Linked DNA regions of Homo sapiens: all the other regions are linked to region 3. The links are contacts of gene promoters, found by promoter capture Hi-C in human tissues and cell types (Jung and others, 2019). All regions are on one chromosome and are shown on one strand. The core of a region is centred on a gene start or on the middle of the fragment in contact, and the rest is flanking DNA. Distances in the headings are between cores, read along the strand shown. Region 1 overlaps ARHGAP21 (Rho GTPase activating protein 21). Region 2 overlaps ARHGAP21 (Rho GTPase activating protein 21). Region 3 holds the start of C10orf67 (chromosome 10 open reading frame 67). Region 4 overlaps KIAA1217. Region 5 overlaps ARHGAP21 (Rho GTPase activating protein 21). Region 6 overlaps KIAA1217.

Region 1 (2,700 bases), core at 126-2,625, 1.3 Mb before region 3:
AGTGTTGCCAATGAAAATGAGTTCACCATTAACATTGGTTGCTGATATAGTATTACTGATAACTCAAAATTAACTTACATTATAAAAACTTATTTATACATACATTTAATAAGATGAGTTTCTGATAATCATAGTCAAGATAATCATAGCTCATCAAGCAAAATAGTGAAACCACATGATATGTGTCTGACCGTCTGTAGCTTTTTCTTCCGTAGCCTATATTCGTGCTTGGTATTGCTGGTATCTGCTCAAAGGGGATTGCATTATTTCATTGGTAGCTAAGATGAACTGAAATTTAAGCTCGACTTTTAATTTGGTGATTCCTGTCTACCCAAAGGGAAGGGAAGTAATTGTTTTTAACCACAGAAATGCAATCTGTTCCTTGATTCAGAGTAAACAAGATTTTATTCATATCATAAAGTAGCTTTTGAAAATATCTCTATTTGGTAAAACTTCTTTACAAGAAAATGTGTAAAAATAGGCATATCTGTATTTGAGTTTATGTCTGTTTCTCTGGTTTTGTCTAGTTGTTGTGAAATGTGCTATATGCACTCACTGCCTCAAATGAGGAAAATGGAGAAATAAGGAAATAAGAACAATTCCCCAACAATGTTTTAAAGTCTTCATTTTCTATTATCTTTGTTTTATGTAAACTTTACTCATTTCGTATAAATTTCATTCATTTTTGAGGTCCTGCTTTCTGTCAGGTTTTGTGTTGGGCACTAGAGTAAGACTTGGGCATCTTGTCAGGAAGCTGCTCTGTGATTAAAGAGATAGATGTATGAACAAGCAATTATAATATGGTTAGTAAGTCCTACAGTAAAGGTACTCTCTACAGTAGAGGGCCTGGGAAACTGCCTTTTTTTTTCTTTGAGACAGGGTCTCCATCACCCAGACCTCATGGGCTCACCCTCCCACCTCAGCCTCCTGAGTAGCTTGGACTACAGGCATGCACCACCACACCTGGCTAAATTTTGTATTTTTTGTAGAAATGGGGTTTCACCATGTTGGCCAGGTTGGTATCAGGTTGCCCTTGCTCTCCTGGAAGTAGCAGGTGAACTTCTGGGCTCAAACCATTGCCTGCCTCAGTCTCCCAAAGTGCTGGGATTATGGATGTGAGTCACCTCACCTGGCTTAGAAACTGCTTTTAAGCCTTAAAGTACACTGATCGGGAAGTTCTGCTGTAAGGCACTTTGGTGCTGAGAAAGGAATAGTTTATTCAGTTAGTACACGGGAAACATGTGAAAACAGTCATAACTCATCTGCAGGGATGTGCCGCCCAATATTGCAACTGGATGTGAAAGGTAACAACTGCTTGCGTGCATGTTCATTATGGAAAATCCATGAATCGTTCAGGAAAAAATTTAAACAGCTCCTAATTCCAAAAAGTGTGTATGTGATTAAAATAATTTTGATCATATTGGGGAGTTTTATATTTTTGCTTAACATTATATTTTGGGCATTTTCTCATGCCATTGAAAAATGTTCACAGTCATGACTTTAGGAGCTGTATCATAATTTACTTACTATTCTTTTTTGTTGTTGTTAGACAACATAGTTTCCAGTTTGAGTTTATTTATCTTTATTTTTATTTATTTATTTATTTATTTGAGATAGGGTCTCACTCTGTTGCCCAGGCTGGAGTGTGTGGCGCCATCTCGGCTCACTGCAGCCTTGACCTCTTGGGCTCAAGGGATCCACCTGCCTTAGCCTCCCATGTAGCTTGGACCACAGATGCATGCTACTATGTCTGGCTGATTTTTAAATTTTTTGTAGAGACAGGGCCTCATCATGTTACACAGCTGGTTTCAACTCCTGGGCTCAAGCAGTCCTCTTGCCTCGGCTTCCCAAAGTGCTGGGATTACAGGCATGACTCACCATGTCCGGCCTAAGTAGTTTCCAATTTGAGTTATTTATACCTTGGAATGAATAGCTTGTAATCTGTCTTTTTGCCCTTATCTCTTATTTCATTATTTACTAGCTTAACAAGTATAAAATTGAAGTTTCTTAGTAGATATTGCCAAGTAGGTTTATAGGAAGATTGTACTTCCAGTGAAGTATATGTGAATTCCCATTTGATTTCATCTTAACAGTGTGGTACCATGTTTTTCTTGATTTGTTTTAGCTTAATATCTTTTCTTCAGTGTCCTCTCCTTATTGAAAATAATGTTAGTGAGTGGGTTAACTAAACTGGAGTGCAGTGGTGCGATCTTGGCTCACTGCAACCTCCACTTCCCAGGTTCAAGCGATTCTCCTGCCTCAGCCTCCTGAGTAGCTGGGATTACTGGCGTCTGCCACCATGCCTGACAAATTTTTGTATTTCTAGTAGAGACGGGGTTTTACCATGTTGGCCAGGCTGATCTTGAACTCCTGACCTCAAGTGATCCGCCCACCTCGGCCTCCCAAAGTGCTGGGATTACAGGTGTGAGCCACTGCACCAGCCAAGAAGACAATTCTATCAATACGGTATTATATTTAGAAAAGAAAGAGGTTTGTTGCACTAAATGATAATCTCATTGTATCTTTATGACTGGTAGATACTCTTTGGGAAGTTAACAGCAAATCAGGAATGTAAATAAAATCGTGATCTTTGATTTTGGTAGACATGCTTAAAAGGTAACTGATTATAAATGCTTAATAGAGCTAGTTAGGCTTTGAGAGTAGGGGCCAAATGCTTATGACACTATAAACTGCTAATAT
Region 2 (2,744 bases), core at 217-2,716, 1.3 Mb before region 3:
TGAATTCTGGAGGGTTCTTTCATATTTTGCAGGTTAGCAGCAGTTTACTTTGTAATTTTTTAAAATCTATTTTTAAATAATTACAAGAATAGTATGTGCTGGTTGAAAATATTTGAAATAATGCAGAAAGGTATAATAAAAAGAAAGTCCTTCTCCATCTACACCATCCCCTTCTCCCATTCCCTATGCTGGCATGGTTGGCATCTACCAACAAACATGAAGTTACTCTTGCTTTTATCATAGGTAAAGGCATTAAATTAATAACCTGTTAAAGGTGAACTGAAAGGCAGGAATTTTAATCTTACCACCTTATTTATTCTTCAGGTTTTTTTTTTTTTTTTTTTTTTTTCTCTGTTTCATTTTGTTTACCATTTATCATAGGTATGGTCATGGTGATTTTGATGTGACTGTATAAAAAATGAACTAGAGATTATTTTAGGGTTATTTAGTTACTATTAGGCATTGTACATATAATCAAGATCCAGGCTGTTAATATTAAGTTGTATTTAACATACTGTTTGGAGTTCTAATTACAAAGAAAGAATTCTTTGGGTCATCTTTCTTATTTTCTTCCTCCTCCTCCTCCCCCCCCCCCCCCACTTTTTAGAGCTTTTTGTATCTAATAGGCAAAACAGGGCTGTTAGGGAAGGCTTCAGTTTTTAAAATACAAGCTGTTAAACTCCAAAAGGTGTAATACTTAAGTACAAGGGTAAAGAAAGCTCAAGAAGGAATGTGAAGTGGTATACAAAAAGGCTGAGTGGAAAAAATGGCTAAAAATGTTTTGTCATATTCTGTTGAATTCACAAGAGCTAGTAAATTGGGAAAAATTTAAATGTTGTCTGATTCTATCAAAACACTTTCATATGTTGTAAAGTATCCATTTGGGCTTAAAGCCTAACTAAAATTCAAAATTGTTAATACTGAATATGTAATTCTTATGACATTGGTTTCAAAAATAATATTCCTCCCCAAATTTGAATAAAGGAGATAGCTTTAAAATATTAGTTCTACCCGGGCTCGGTGGTTCACACCTGTAATCCTGGCACTTTGGGAGTCCGAGGCAGGTGGATCACTTGAGGTCAGGAGTTCGAGACCAACCTGGCGAACATAGTGAAACCCCACCTCCATTAAAAATACAAAAATTAGCTGAGCATGGTGGCTCATGCCTGTAATCCCAGCTACTCAGGAGGCTGAGGCAGGAGAATTGCTTGAACCTGGGAGGCACAGGTTGCAGTGAGCCAAGATTGCGCCACTGCACTCCAGCCTGGGCAACAGAGTGAGACTCGGTCTCAAAAAAAAAAAAAAAAAAAAGTTCTAGAACAGCATTTCCCAGGCAGATATTCTAATTATTTTAAAATCTCTGGGGAAAAAAATGGGTTCCCTGGCGAGTAAGTTTGTACTTTTGAGTTTCACAATGTACATTTTGTGAAAAATGTTCTTGAATGAATTCATATTTTATCTCAACCATATCTGCTTACATTAGATAATAGTACTGCATGTGTGAGATGTTCACTGTTAATGCCTGCATTTGTATGGATTTCAGGGCCCCTTGTGATAACTTAACTCAGAAGTGGGGACCTGTGACTGTAATGTAGACTATTTAGCATTTAGAATTGCCATACAGGAATATTAGAGATGTCTGAAGTATGTAAAATATTCTCAAGTTTTAATAGTTCCAGCCGTATACTTCTATTACTAAACAGTAATATTTCTTCCCAAATTTGAATAAAGGAGTCATCTTTAAAATATTAGTTCTAGAATAGCATTACCCAAGTAGATATTCTAATTATGTTAAAACCTCTGGGAAAAAAATGGCCTCCATGGTGAATAAGTTTATATTTTCCTTTCGAATTTCACAATGTACATTAGTGTCGTCGTGGTTTTGAGAAATCAAAAAGCTTGCCAAGTGGCCCTACATCATTGACCATAGGGACCTCCTCTCCCCCATCCTCCTTTTCAGGTGGTATATAATAAAACTACACAAGGATGTTGTGGGAAATGCTGTACCAGACAGTACAGTATTCTCTCATCCAGACACAATTTTCCTATTGCAGAAAAGTATTGGTATGATTCTAATCAGCATGGAAAAGATAGACTTGGTGTGTCAATGCACACACCCAAAATGCATGTTGGGATTAACTGTATTCATGCCATAAAAATACTATGTAGACATATTTTATTTTATATGGCTAGCTTTAATTTGTCACTGCATTCTAGTCTCTGTTCTATAATATTTATTATAGGTTAACAAGAATTACTCTGGAAGTAATATTTTTATGTCTATCCAGTAGTTATTTTTGCAAACTAATACAATAGTACAAAAGGCACAGTGTTGAAAGATCTTAATTTTTGAGTGAAACTTACTTAAAAGAAGTCATTTTCCCCCCTGAATCTTAGTGTAAAGGCAGCTGCAGTCTGCTGACAGCTTGTGGTTATGCTCTGATTTACTGGGGAAGGAGGAGGTTGTACTATTTTAAATGCATAATAGAGCATTCGTTTCGTCATCTGGAAGCAGAGATGGAAGAAGCTGGGGGGAAATGAGAGACATCACTGTTGCTTTCGTGGAGGGAAGCTTTGTAGCATGTTATCAGACAGCAGTGCATATTGAAGAAAATATCTGTTAGGAATGCATGTCACCAGATGTATTTTGCTTTCAAGAATGGTAGACACATCAAACAAGAATCAGATAAAAGCCTGAGAAAAAGATGTTCAGAAGAATACTGGAGTTATTCTTTATGCTTCAC
Region 3 (2,716 bases), core at 113-2,612:
AACTCCTTGATATGCTATAGCAAGGTTTCAAACAAAGATGTTCTGTTCAATGCATGTTTTTGTGGGATGGCGTAACTATGCAGACTATATCAGTCAACAAATGCTGTACAGAGCTGACCAATGACTCATGAAATCTTCTGTGCGATCTCTCTCCTCAGTTTCAAACGATTCATTTATAATTGCACTAGGAAAATAGCCAACAGCTTGTCACATTCTTTACACTGTCTTGGCCCAGCTCTAAACAGATAGGTTTTGAAATTTTAACTTAAAATTTTAATCTTTATTTTAAAACATGTATATACATTGTGGTAAAATATCACTTAGGAAAAAGAAAAGTTATTGTAGATATATAAATTTCTTTCTTTTAAAATACCTTTTGATTATATAATAAAAATTCCCCAAATAAAGTCTGAAGTTAGAGTTTGTAATTAAAAACCTCCAAAGAGTAAAAGTAACTCTTTTTCTCTTCTCTCTTCATCTCCCCCCCAAAAAATAAGCCTTCACAGAAGATGATTTTGGCATTGGTTATGATGTTTTATTGGCATTTGGGGCTTTTAATCTTTGTCTTTAAACATAATAGTAGTGATAATGCTACAGTGCTTTTCTTTTCCTGTTTTGAGCTTCTAAATCCAGCTAAGTTATTTTCACTTACTGTTACAAGACAGAGAAGAGGCCGGGCTCTGTGGCTCACGCCTGTTATCTAGCACTTTGGGAGGCCGAGGGGGGCAGATTGCCTGAGCTCAGGAGTTAGACTAGCCTGCACAACGCGGTGAAACCCCGTCTCTACTAAAAATACAAAAAATTAGCCTGGCTTGGTGCTGTGTGCCTGTAGTCCCAGCTGCTCGGGAGGCTGAAGCAGGAGAATTGCTTGAACCCGGGAGGCGGAGGTTGCAGTGAGCCCAGATCGCGCCACTGCACCCCAGCCTGGGCGACAGAGCGAGACTCCGGCTCCAAAAAATAATAATAATAATAATAAGAGAGAGGAGAAAAAACTTATTTTTCTGTAGATAATATATTGAAATGCAGATGTAGTATAGACAGTTCTAAACCAGACAATGACATTTTAAAAATAAATTTAGCCAGTCGTTTACAGAAAAACAATGACATACTGATATTAGAATAGGTGTCTCCTATTAGTTGACAATGAGTGATACATAATTTAAAACTAAGGATGACAACAGTTTCACTATTAACTCTTATTATTGTAGAAACCTGGTAAAATTGAATTCCACACTAGATGGTATAGTTTAAGACTTAACGCCTCACATTCTGACCTCATTAAATAGAAATCTGTTTAATCTCTGCAAGGAAATATTTTGTCCAGGAACGCCTACGTTTGTGGCAGGTGGAGACAGCTTATTAGGCAGCCTGCTCTCCTCTTATGATGGCCTTGGTCCGGGATCGCAGGGCTCATTATGTCATGAGCATAGTTATTAGATGGGTTCACTGCTTTTCCTCCTCCTTGAGGGGGACCTTTGGCACACGCTGGGAGGCCATGAAAGCCAAGGCCACCGAGCTGCGGGTCTGCTGCGCGCGTAGGAAGCGAGAAGCTCGGGAATTCAAGCCCCCGCAAATGCGCGGGTCCACGAGGTAGGCTGAGCTCCGCGCCTGGGTAGAGGAGGAAGCGAGCAGGGTCCAGGGGCACGGCGGGAGGCTGAAGGGTTATTTACGGGGGTGCAGCTTTCCTCTGGGGTATCGCAGCAGCCTCCAGGCTGTGGGAGTCTTGTGGGGAAGCCTTGAGGCAGGCGGGACAGTGAAAGCGCAGCGGGGTGGCTTGGGAGCCCGCCCCGCCTCCTCCTCCCCCTCTCCACTCCCCTCCTCCCGCGCGTGCTCCCTCCCCATCCTCCTTTCCATCTCTTCCCCCTTCCCCCACTCCTTCCCCCTCTTCCTTCCCTCCACACCTCCTCTACTTCCTTTCCCTCTCCCCTTCCCCCCCATCCCCAACCTTCTCCCTATCCCCCTCCTCCCCATCTCCTTCCCCCTTCCCCTCCCCACCCCGTTCCCCACCCCCCTCCACTCGCGGCCCTCCCCGGCCCCCGCCCACGGATTCCCGCGCTTCGCCGGTTACCTGGGAGTCGCCATGGCAACGGACGCCGGGTTCCCGACTCCGACTCAGGAGAGCGAGCGGCTCCGCGGGAGGCGCACGTCCGGGGCTGCAATGGCGAACTGGGGCGACTCGCCTGAGACAGAGGAGGGCCGGAAGATCATGGAGGGCCTCGAGGCCTCTATTGAACAATTCCAGTTCAACCCCAGGTGACCAGCGGGAGAGGCAGTCCCCGCCGGCCCGCCCCGGAGCCCTCGCGCCCCGGCCCTCGCTCAACGCCTTTCCAGGCCCCTTGCTCCAGCCGCTGGGCTTCAGTTTTTTGTTTGTTTTTCGAGGGGATCACTGTCCGAAAAGAGCTGCAGTTTTCACTTCTTCAAGTGTATAGCTGGACACTAAGAGCACGGACTCTGGAGCCAGACTGCCCGGATTCCAGAATCTTGGCGACCCTCTCACAGGGGCCGTGAGTTAGGCGACTGACTGCTCTGTGCCTCAGTTTTCTCAGCGGGAAATAATCGTTCATGAATGATGAAGAGTAGTGCCTGCTTCATAGATCATAGTGAATATTAAATGAGCTAATCTAGGACACAGTACCCGTCTTAGTCCCCTCGGGCTGCTGTAACAAAACAACATAGGCTGGGTGGCTTATAAGCAACAGGAATTTGTTTCTCCCAG
Region 4 (2,700 bases), core at 36-2,535, 1.1 Mb before region 3:
ATGATGAGTTCATGTCCTTTGTAGGGACATGGATGAAGCTGGAAACCATCATTCTCAGCAAACTATCGCAAGGACAAAAAACCAAAGACCGCATGTTCTCACTTATAGGTGGGAATTGAAGAATGAGAACACATGGACACAGGAAGGGGAACATCACACACCAGGGACTGTTGTGGGGTGGGGGGAGGGGGGAGGGATAGCATTAGGATATACCTAATGCTAAATGATGAGTTAATGGGTGCAGCACACCAACATGGCACATGTATACATATGTAACAAACCTGCACGTTGTGCACATGTACCCTAAAACTTAAAGTATAATAATAATTAAAAACAGAAATGAAACAAATGTTTAATAAAGCATATTTTGTTTGTTCTAAAGTCTTAGTAGGAACATCACTTCAAAATTGCAAAACTTAAATGGAAATATCAAGGAAGGGAGGCTGTGGGCTGTGTATAAACAAGCAGAAACAAGTTCAAATCCAGTGTCCAACATTGATCAGATGTGTGAGCTTGGGAAAGACCTCTTTGGCTTCAGTTTTATCACCTGTGAAAACGAAGTCAGTATACCCACTTTGCCAGAGTTACTGACTAATTTAAATAATATGTAAAGTACTTAACACACTGCCTACTCTGCAGACACAAAAAGGTTTGCTATCTTCTATCTAGAACAACGATGGTAGAGAATGAATACTATTTATATCCTGATAGATTGCACCAAGAAATTAATAGAGTTCCTATACATTTTTACAGTTTTACAGAAAAAAGAAGTCAAAGTAGAATGTGCAACCAAAGGAAGATGAAAGTAGGAAAATTAAAAAGAGAGTCCAGGAATGAAGCCAACACACAAAACACACGCCACAAATGCCTGTACCCTTGCTGTGGGTGGGCCACAAATTTAATTCTAAGCTTTAGAGTAGCAACACAAAGAGGGAAAATGATCACTTACAAGACTCAAAGTGTCCATATGATAAAAATAAACCAGGAGAAGCACAACTATTTCTGGTGATGAGAACAGAGAGATATTTTTACAGTGGGTCCTCATTAATGATAGAAAATGAATAATATGGCATTTGTAGGACCATCAGTAGGACACTCAGCGCATCCTGTTTAACAAGTGTGTTTACTCTGCACTCACCAGGGGTTAAGATGCCATGACTGGTTTTTGGAGGGACGTGAAGATGAATCATCACATAATATGGCTTGTGGCTTTGAAGAGTGTACAGTCTTTTGCATGAGATGAACACACAGCTAAATGATTATAACACAATGCGAATGTGCAACAGGCCCCCAAAAGGGAAAGATGAATTCTGACAGAGCATTAGCGAAAGCTTCCTGGGGTAGGAAGTCTTTTATTTGGGCTCTAAAAACAAGTTTTTATTATTTTGTAAAAGATTTTATTATGGGCTGGGCATGGTGGCTCACGCCTGTAAATCCAGCACTTTAGGAGGCCGAGGCGGGTGGATCACCTGAGGTCAGGAGTTCGAGACCAGCCTGGTCAACGTGGTGAAACCCCGTCTCTAGTAAAAAATACAAAAATGTGCCAAGAGTGGTGGTGTGCACCTGTAGTCCCGGCTACTCAAGAGGCTAAGGGAGGAGAATTGCTTGAACACGGGAGGCAGAGGTTGCAGTGAGCTGAGATCGCACCACTGCACTCCAGCCCGGTGACAGAGTGAGACTCTGTCTCAGAAAAAAGAAAAGAAAAGAAAAGAAAACAAACAGATTTTATTATGAAAATTTTCAAACACAAAAAAGTAGAGAAAACAATAAAAGGTACCCCCATCATCCAGCTTTGACATTTTTCAACATTTTACCATTTTGTTTCATCTACTTCCACCTTTTTGTTTTCTTGGTTTGCTGCAGTATTTTAAAGCAAGTCCCATTTTTCATGTCATTTAACCTGTAAACACTTTAGTATGTTCCATCTTTTAAAACATAACCACTAACCTATTATTATGCCTAACAGAATTACCAGCTATCCCTTAATATCTCCTGATTCCTAACACATGTTCAAATTTCCCAAATAGTTTTAAAGATGTCTTTTACAGTTGCTTTGTTCTTCTCAAAATCTGAAGATGGTGCACAGGCCACATTTTGTTATTATGGTACAGAAGACCCCCGAGAAACTTAACTGTGCTCCCTCCCCCACTTTTTTTTCATGACTGCAATTTGCTGAAGGAATTAGACAATTGTTCTGGAATATGTTAGATGAGTAGAATTTTGAAAGGCAGATATGTAGAGAGGGAGAGTGAATTTGAGACACTTGGAAAAAGAGAACAGGAGAATGAGATGTGGGAAGTAAGAACTGTTAGGTGATTCAGTAGAGAGATAATGAAGGCTATAATTTCAGCAGCCACGGTGCCTGGGTTTAAATCTCTGTTCTGCTACTCTCTGGCTGTGTGGCCTTGGGGAAATCTCTTAACATAAGGAGCTGTCTCATCATCTGTAAACAGGGGGGCTTATACCAAGACCTGGCTCAAAAGTTTATCTTGAGGATTAAATAATTAACATTACTGTCCAGGCGCAGTAGCCCACGCCTGTAATTTGAGAGGCTGAGGCAGGTGGATCACCTGAGGTCAGGAGTTTGAGACCAGCCTGGCCAACATGGCAAAATCCCATTTCTTCTAAAAATACAAAAATTAGCCAGGTATAGTGGTGCATGCCTGTAATCCCAGCTACTCAGTAGGCTGAGGTGGGAGA
Region 5 (2,700 bases), core at 41-2,540, 1.4 Mb before region 3:
GTCAGATCATTTAGATTTCAAGAGAAGCTGAAAATTTGAATTTTCATGTTAACGTGTCCTAATTTTTAAATGTTGATGACTAATTCAAGGTTTTCAAAATAGTGAGATCTAAGCAAAATACATCTGCTGACCAGATGTGGCTCTAGGCTTTTAGTGTGTAACCTCTTGTTTATAGGAATACTTAGGACAGCACTTGGTTTCTTTGAGTTTCACCGTTGAAGCTAAGCAGTAATCAAGGATGCTGCCGGATACCCTTGGAAAGCTTATGGTATAGGTCGGAAAGAAGTATGGGTGAGAGAAAACAAGTCGCAGAAAAGGCAGGATGGGAAGGAAGGAGAACAACTGAAGGAGACAGACAAAAGAAATGATACCATGGGAAGTGGGAGAGTGGCCATCATGTTTCTCAGGTTGCATACTGAGAATTCTGCAAGGTAACATTACTTATTAAATATTACCACTGTTGTATGGAGGCAGTATAGTGTTATAGTTGAAAGTGCAGAGTTTAGTGCCCAAGAACTGAATTCAAGGCCTGGAGTTGTTCCTGGCTCTGTGGCAGTGGTATGGCTTGAGTGTTACTTGCCTTCTCCTCTCTGACAGTACCAACATCAGGGATTGTTGTGAAGTTTAAAATGAGATAACCTGGATATAGCATTTAACATAGTGCTGGCGTGTTGAGTGCTTAATACATGCTTACAATTATTATTAGCGTATTCTAAGTTGGTATAGGTGATGTTATATGAGATTTACATTAAAAGTAAAGAGATGGTAGTAAAAAATCCATTAATTTAATTTTAAAAATTACAAATGCATGGTCACTTGTAAAAACTGGAAAATTAAAATTGGTTTACTTAATTAAATCCTTCAAATTCAACTCCTGTTAATATATTGATACTGCCATTTTTTTTCACCCAGTGTGTCTAGTTTGTGTGTGGGTTTTACAAGTTGGAATATTATGTACACTTTTCCATTTTAGGACATCATTTTCAATGCCTATATAATATAGAGTGTAAAGTACAGTGTATAATATTATACACTATAATATAAACTATGTATTATGTGTGTGTGTATATATATTGAAACCATTTATCTGTTGAACATTTAAATTGCTTCCAGTGTTCTGCTCTTATAATGTGTGGTGAATATCTTTGTGTTTTAAACTGTTTCCTGTTCAGGATTATTTTCATAGGATACAGTCTTAGAGGTGAAATTACTGGGTCATAGTGACACTATTTTTAGGATATAACTTTAATAACAGCCTGGGCAATATAGTGAGACCTCATCTTTACAAAACAATTAGCTGAGTATAGTAGTGCACACCTGTAGTCCCAGATATTTGGGAGGCTGAGGTGGGGCAATTGCTTGAGCCGGGGAAGTGGAGGTTGCAGTGAACCGAGATTCTGCCACTGCACTCCAGCCTGGGTGACAGAGCAAGACCTTGTCTCAAAAAACCAAAAAACAAAAAACCAAAAAAAAAACCTTAAAACAATACATTTTTTGTATTCTGAAGATCTTAGAGAGGTGATTGTTCTTGGGCTTCTTGACAGATGAGTGAATTTTAAAAAGTTGTAGATTACAATACTGGTTATTCCCATACCACAATTAAGAATGGAGGTATTGGCCAGGCGTGGTGGCTCACGCCTGTAATCCTAGCACTTTGGGAGGCTGAGGCAGGCGGATCACGAGGTCAGGAGATCGAGACCATCCTGGCTAACACGGTGAAACCCCGTCTCTACTAAAAATACAAAAAAATTAGCCAGGCGTGATGGCGGGTGCCTGTAGTCCCAGCTACTCAGAAGGCTGAGGCAGGAGAATGGCGTGAACCCGGGAAATGGAACTTGCAGTGAGCCGAGATCGCGCCACTGCACTCCAGACTGGACGACAGAGCAAGACTCCGTCTCAAAAAAAAAAAAAAAAAAAAAGAACCGGAAGTATTTTCTCCCCCTCACCAAGGTGTGTGATAAATTTCAAATGTTCTAATCAGTGTTTAGAAATAGGGGTTGAATGTTTGGTAATAATGGAGCCAGATACAAGAAGTTGTGCATTAAGGTTTCATATATATGGCATATCACATAATCCCAGTTCTTGGTTTCCTTCAAGTCCAATGACAGCTGTTATTACACAGCCACATACATAGGGAACTCAGAAGGAATACTGGGGAGCATCAAGCATGGGAGATCCTGGCATTATCACTTCTGTAGATACTTGTATACAGCCTGCGGTCTGTTTTCAGCTCAGCATCGAGTATGATCATTTTAAACATCAGAACATGAACATGGTATTCTACCAGAGTCCACCAGAGGCTGCCCATATTAGCATAAAAGCCAAGGGCCTGAAGAGATTTTGTTCCCTTCTTTCATTATCTCCAGTACCCTGTTTCTACTTCCTTTTCAAACCCTAGTCATTCTTCTCTAACCACACTGGCCTCCTTTGCTGTTCATCTCAGGGCCTTTGCACTCACCGTTCCCACTTCCTGAAATACTTTCATTTCAGATCTCTGCATAGCCTGCTGCTTTGCTTTCTTTAGGGTTCTATTCACATGTTCCCTTCTCAGAGAAATGTTCTGTTCCAATTTAAGATATTACAAAGGGAAAAACAATCATGCCATTAAAGAAGGCACTTTTTTTTTTCTTTGAAAGAAGGTTGTAAAATGATTGGAAATTTTTATTATTTAATGGAAATCTCATTTTGTATAAGTCCATT
Region 6 (2,700 bases), core at 195-2,694, 1.0 Mb before region 3:
ATTTCCTGAAACACACAGAACAGGCAGCACTACAATATCTACAAATATAATAAGTTAGGCCCCTGTGCAGTCAGAGATCAGTTGTAGAGAACTGAACTGGTTCAGCCAGTTAAAAAAAATGGATTTATTAAATGGCTTGCAGAATCACTGGGCTGAATCTTCACAGTAAAACTGGGTGACTATAGACCTGGTTTGGTAAAGAGGAAGCTTCCTTAAACTCTGGTCAGGTGTGATTCCAAAGCCATGCTGCCTTGATTGGAAGCTGCCAGCACAGATGCAGAGTTGGGCCTCACCTTCACTTCAGTACTAGAGATGGATGCCTGCCCCAGCAGTCTCAACCCGATCAAGCTGGTGGCCGTGCCCTGGGAGCTTGGCAAATAATGCTGAAAAAAAACAAAACAAAACAAAACAAAAAACCCAAGTCTCCACAACTGCCTTGCTTCTCACCTTCCAGAACCCAGCACATTGGATATTCCAGAAAGAATCTGCTTTCCAGCCTCAGTGGTAGCAGCAGGTGCACTAGGAAGAGACTGGTATGGGTGATTCCAGCCAGACACCCTAACCACCCACTCCCAGCTACTTAGGCCAGGGCGCTGGTTCTGATGCTAGAGAGAATGCTCTGACATTTTGTTGTTGTGGTTGTTGTTGTATTTTCTTTCTTTCTTTTTTTTTTTTATTATACTTTAAGTTCTAGGGTACATGTACACAACGTGCAGGTTTGTTACATATGTATACATGTGCCATGTTGGTGTGCTACACCCATTAACTCATCATTTACATTAGGTATATCTCCTAATGCTATCCCTCCCCCATTCCCCCACCCCACCACAGGCCCCAGTGTGTGATATTCCCCACCCTGTGTCCAAGTGTTCTCATTGTTCAATTCCCACCTATGAGTGAGAACATGTGGTGTTTGGTTTTCTGTCCTTGCGATAGTTTGCTGAGAATGATGGTTTCCAGCTTCATCCATGTCCCTACAAAGGACATGAACTCATCCTTTTTTATGGCTACATAGTATTACATGGTGTATATGTGCCACATTTTCTTAATCCAGTCTATCATTGATGGACGTTTGGGCTGGTTCCAAGTCTTTGCTATTGTGAATAGTGCTGCAATAAACGTACGTGTGTGTGTTTATAGCAGCATGATTTATAATCCTTTGGATATATGCCCAGTAATGGGATGGTTGGGTCAAATGCTATTTCTAGTTCTAGATCCTTGAGGAATCACCACACTGTCTTCCACAATGGTTGAACTAGTTTACAGTCCCACCAACAGTGTAAAAGTGTTCCTATTTCTCCACATCCTCTCCAGCACATGTCGTTTCCTGACTTTTTAATGATCGCCATTCTAACTGGTGTGAGATGGTATCTCATTGTGGATTGATTTGCATTTCTCTGATGACCAGTGATGATGAGCATTTTTTCATGTGTCTGTTGGATGCATAAATGTCTTCTTTTGAGAAGTGTCTGTTCATATCCTTCGCCCGCTTGTTGAAGAGTTTGATTTTTTCTTGTAAATTTGTTTAAGTTCTTTGTAGATTCTGGATATTAGCCCTTTGTCAGGTGGGTAGATTGTAAAAATTTTCTCCCATTCTGTAGGTTGCCTGTTCACTCTGATGGTAGTTTCTTTTGCTGTACAGAAGCTCTTTAGTTTAATTAGATCCCATTTGTCAATTTTGGCTTTTGTTGCCATTGCTTTTGGTGTTTTAGTCATGAAGTCTTTGCCCATGCCTCTGTCCTGAATGGTATTGCCTAGGTTTTCTTCTAGGGTTTTTGCGGTTTTAGGTCTAACATTTAAGCCTTTAATTCATCTTGAATTAATTTTTGTATAAGCTGTAAGGAAGGGATCCAGTTTCAGCTTTCCACATATGGCTAGCCAGTTTTCCCGGCACCATTTATTAAATAAATAGGGAATCCTTTCCCCATTGCTTGTTTTTGTCAGGTTTGTCAAAGATCAGACAGTTGTAGATGTGTGGTATTATTTCTGAGGGCTCTGTTCTGTTCCATTGGTCTGTATCTCTGTTTTGGTACCAGTACCATGCTGTTTTGGTTACTGTAGCCTTGTAGTATAGTTTGAAGTCAGGTAGTGTGATGCCTCCAGCTTTGTTCTTTTGGCTTAGGATTGTCTTGGCTATACAGCCTCTTTTTTGGTTCCATATGAACTTTAAAGTAGTCTTTTCCAATTCTGTGAAGAAAGTCATTGGTAGCTTGATGGGGATGGCATTGAATCTATAAATTACCTTGGGCAGTATGGCCATTTTCACAATATTGACTCTTCCTATCCATGAGCATGGAATGTTCTTCCATTTGTTTGTGTCCTCTTTTATTTCGTTGAGAAGTGGTTTGTAGTTCTCCTTGAAGAGGTCCTTCACATCCCTTGTAAGTTGGATTCCTAGGTATTTTATTCTCTTTGAAGCAATTGTGAATGGGAGTTCACTCATGATTTGGCTCTCTGTTTGTCTGTTATTGGTGTATAGGAATGCTTGTGATTTTTGCACATTGATTTTGTATCCTGAGACTTTGCTGAAGTTGCTTATCAGCTTAAGGAGATTTTGGGCTGAGACAACGGGGGTTTTTAAATATACAGTCATGTCACCTGCAAACAGGGAGAATTTGACTTCCTCTTTTCCTAATTGAATACCCTTTATTTCTTTCTCTTGCCTGATTGCCCTGGCCAGAACTTCCAACACTATGTTGA

The links. Contacts are between HindIII fragments. The study calls those that stand out against the background at their distance.
Region 1: a fragment that was not itself captured here is called in contact with the fragment with the promoter of C10orf67 in region 3 in 1 of the 25 tissues and cell types used here (lymphoblastoid cells).
Region 2: a fragment that was not itself captured here is called in contact with the fragment with the promoter of C10orf67 in region 3 in 1 of the 25 tissues and cell types used here (stomach).
Region 4: a contact is called between a fragment that was not itself captured here and the fragment with the promoter of C10orf67 in region 3, in 1 of the 25 tissues and cell types used here (IMR-90 fibroblasts).
Region 5: a fragment that was not itself captured here is called in contact with the fragment with the promoter of C10orf67 in region 3 in 1 of the 25 tissues and cell types used here (mesenchymal stem cells).
Region 6: a fragment that was not itself captured here is called in contact with the fragment with the promoter of C10orf67 in region 3 in 2 of the 25 tissues and cell types used here (dorsolateral prefrontal cortex and mesenchymal stem cells).

Annotation. Positions count from the first base shown.
Region 1 is chr10:24,685,338-24,688,037 of GRCh38, reverse strand. All of the region lies in intron 2 of ARHGAP21 (Rho GTPase activating protein 21), which reads left to right. Among named protein-coding and RNA genes, the nearest start is that of ARHGAP21, 37 kb to the left of the region's middle. The HindIII fragment of the contact is 6,583 bases long and covers 1-2,700 here.
Region 2 is chr10:24,622,905-24,625,648 of GRCh38, reverse strand. All of the region lies in intron 7 of ARHGAP21 (Rho GTPase activating protein 21), which reads left to right. Among named protein-coding and RNA genes, the nearest start is that of ARHGAP21, 100 kb to the left of the region's middle. The HindIII fragment of the contact is 4,722 bases long and covers 1-2,744 here.
Region 3 is chr10:23,343,443-23,346,158 of GRCh38, reverse strand. C10orf67 (chromosome 10 open reading frame 67) reads left to right here and starts at 1,362. Exons shown (of 16, transcript NM_001371909.1): 1 at 1,362-1,590. The coding sequence starts at 1,385. C10orf67-AS1 (C10orf67 antisense RNA 1) reads right to left here and starts at 2,202. Exons shown (of 2, transcript NR_155752.1): 1 at 2,069-2,202; 2 at 998-1,735. RefSeq lists a silencer at 1-239. The HindIII fragment of the contact is 15,239 bases long and covers 1-2,716 here.
Region 4 is chr10:24,443,017-24,445,716 of GRCh38, reverse strand. All of the region lies in intron 5 of KIAA1217, which reads right to left. Among named protein-coding and RNA genes, the nearest start is that of MIR603, 170 kb to the right of the region's middle. The HindIII fragment of the contact is 3,473 bases long and covers 1-2,700 here.
Region 5 is chr10:24,701,347-24,704,046 of GRCh38, reverse strand. The region is part of intron 2 of ARHGAP21 (Rho GTPase activating protein 21); the gene reads left to right. Among named protein-coding and RNA genes, the nearest start is that of ARHGAP21, 21 kb to the left of the region's middle. The HindIII fragment of the contact is 5,523 bases long and covers 1-2,700 here.
Region 6 is chr10:24,387,526-24,390,225 of GRCh38, reverse strand. The region is part of intron 3 of KIAA1217; the gene reads right to left. Among named protein-coding and RNA genes, the nearest start is that of MIR603, 110 kb to the right of the region's middle. The HindIII fragment of the contact is 6,473 bases long and covers 1-2,700 here.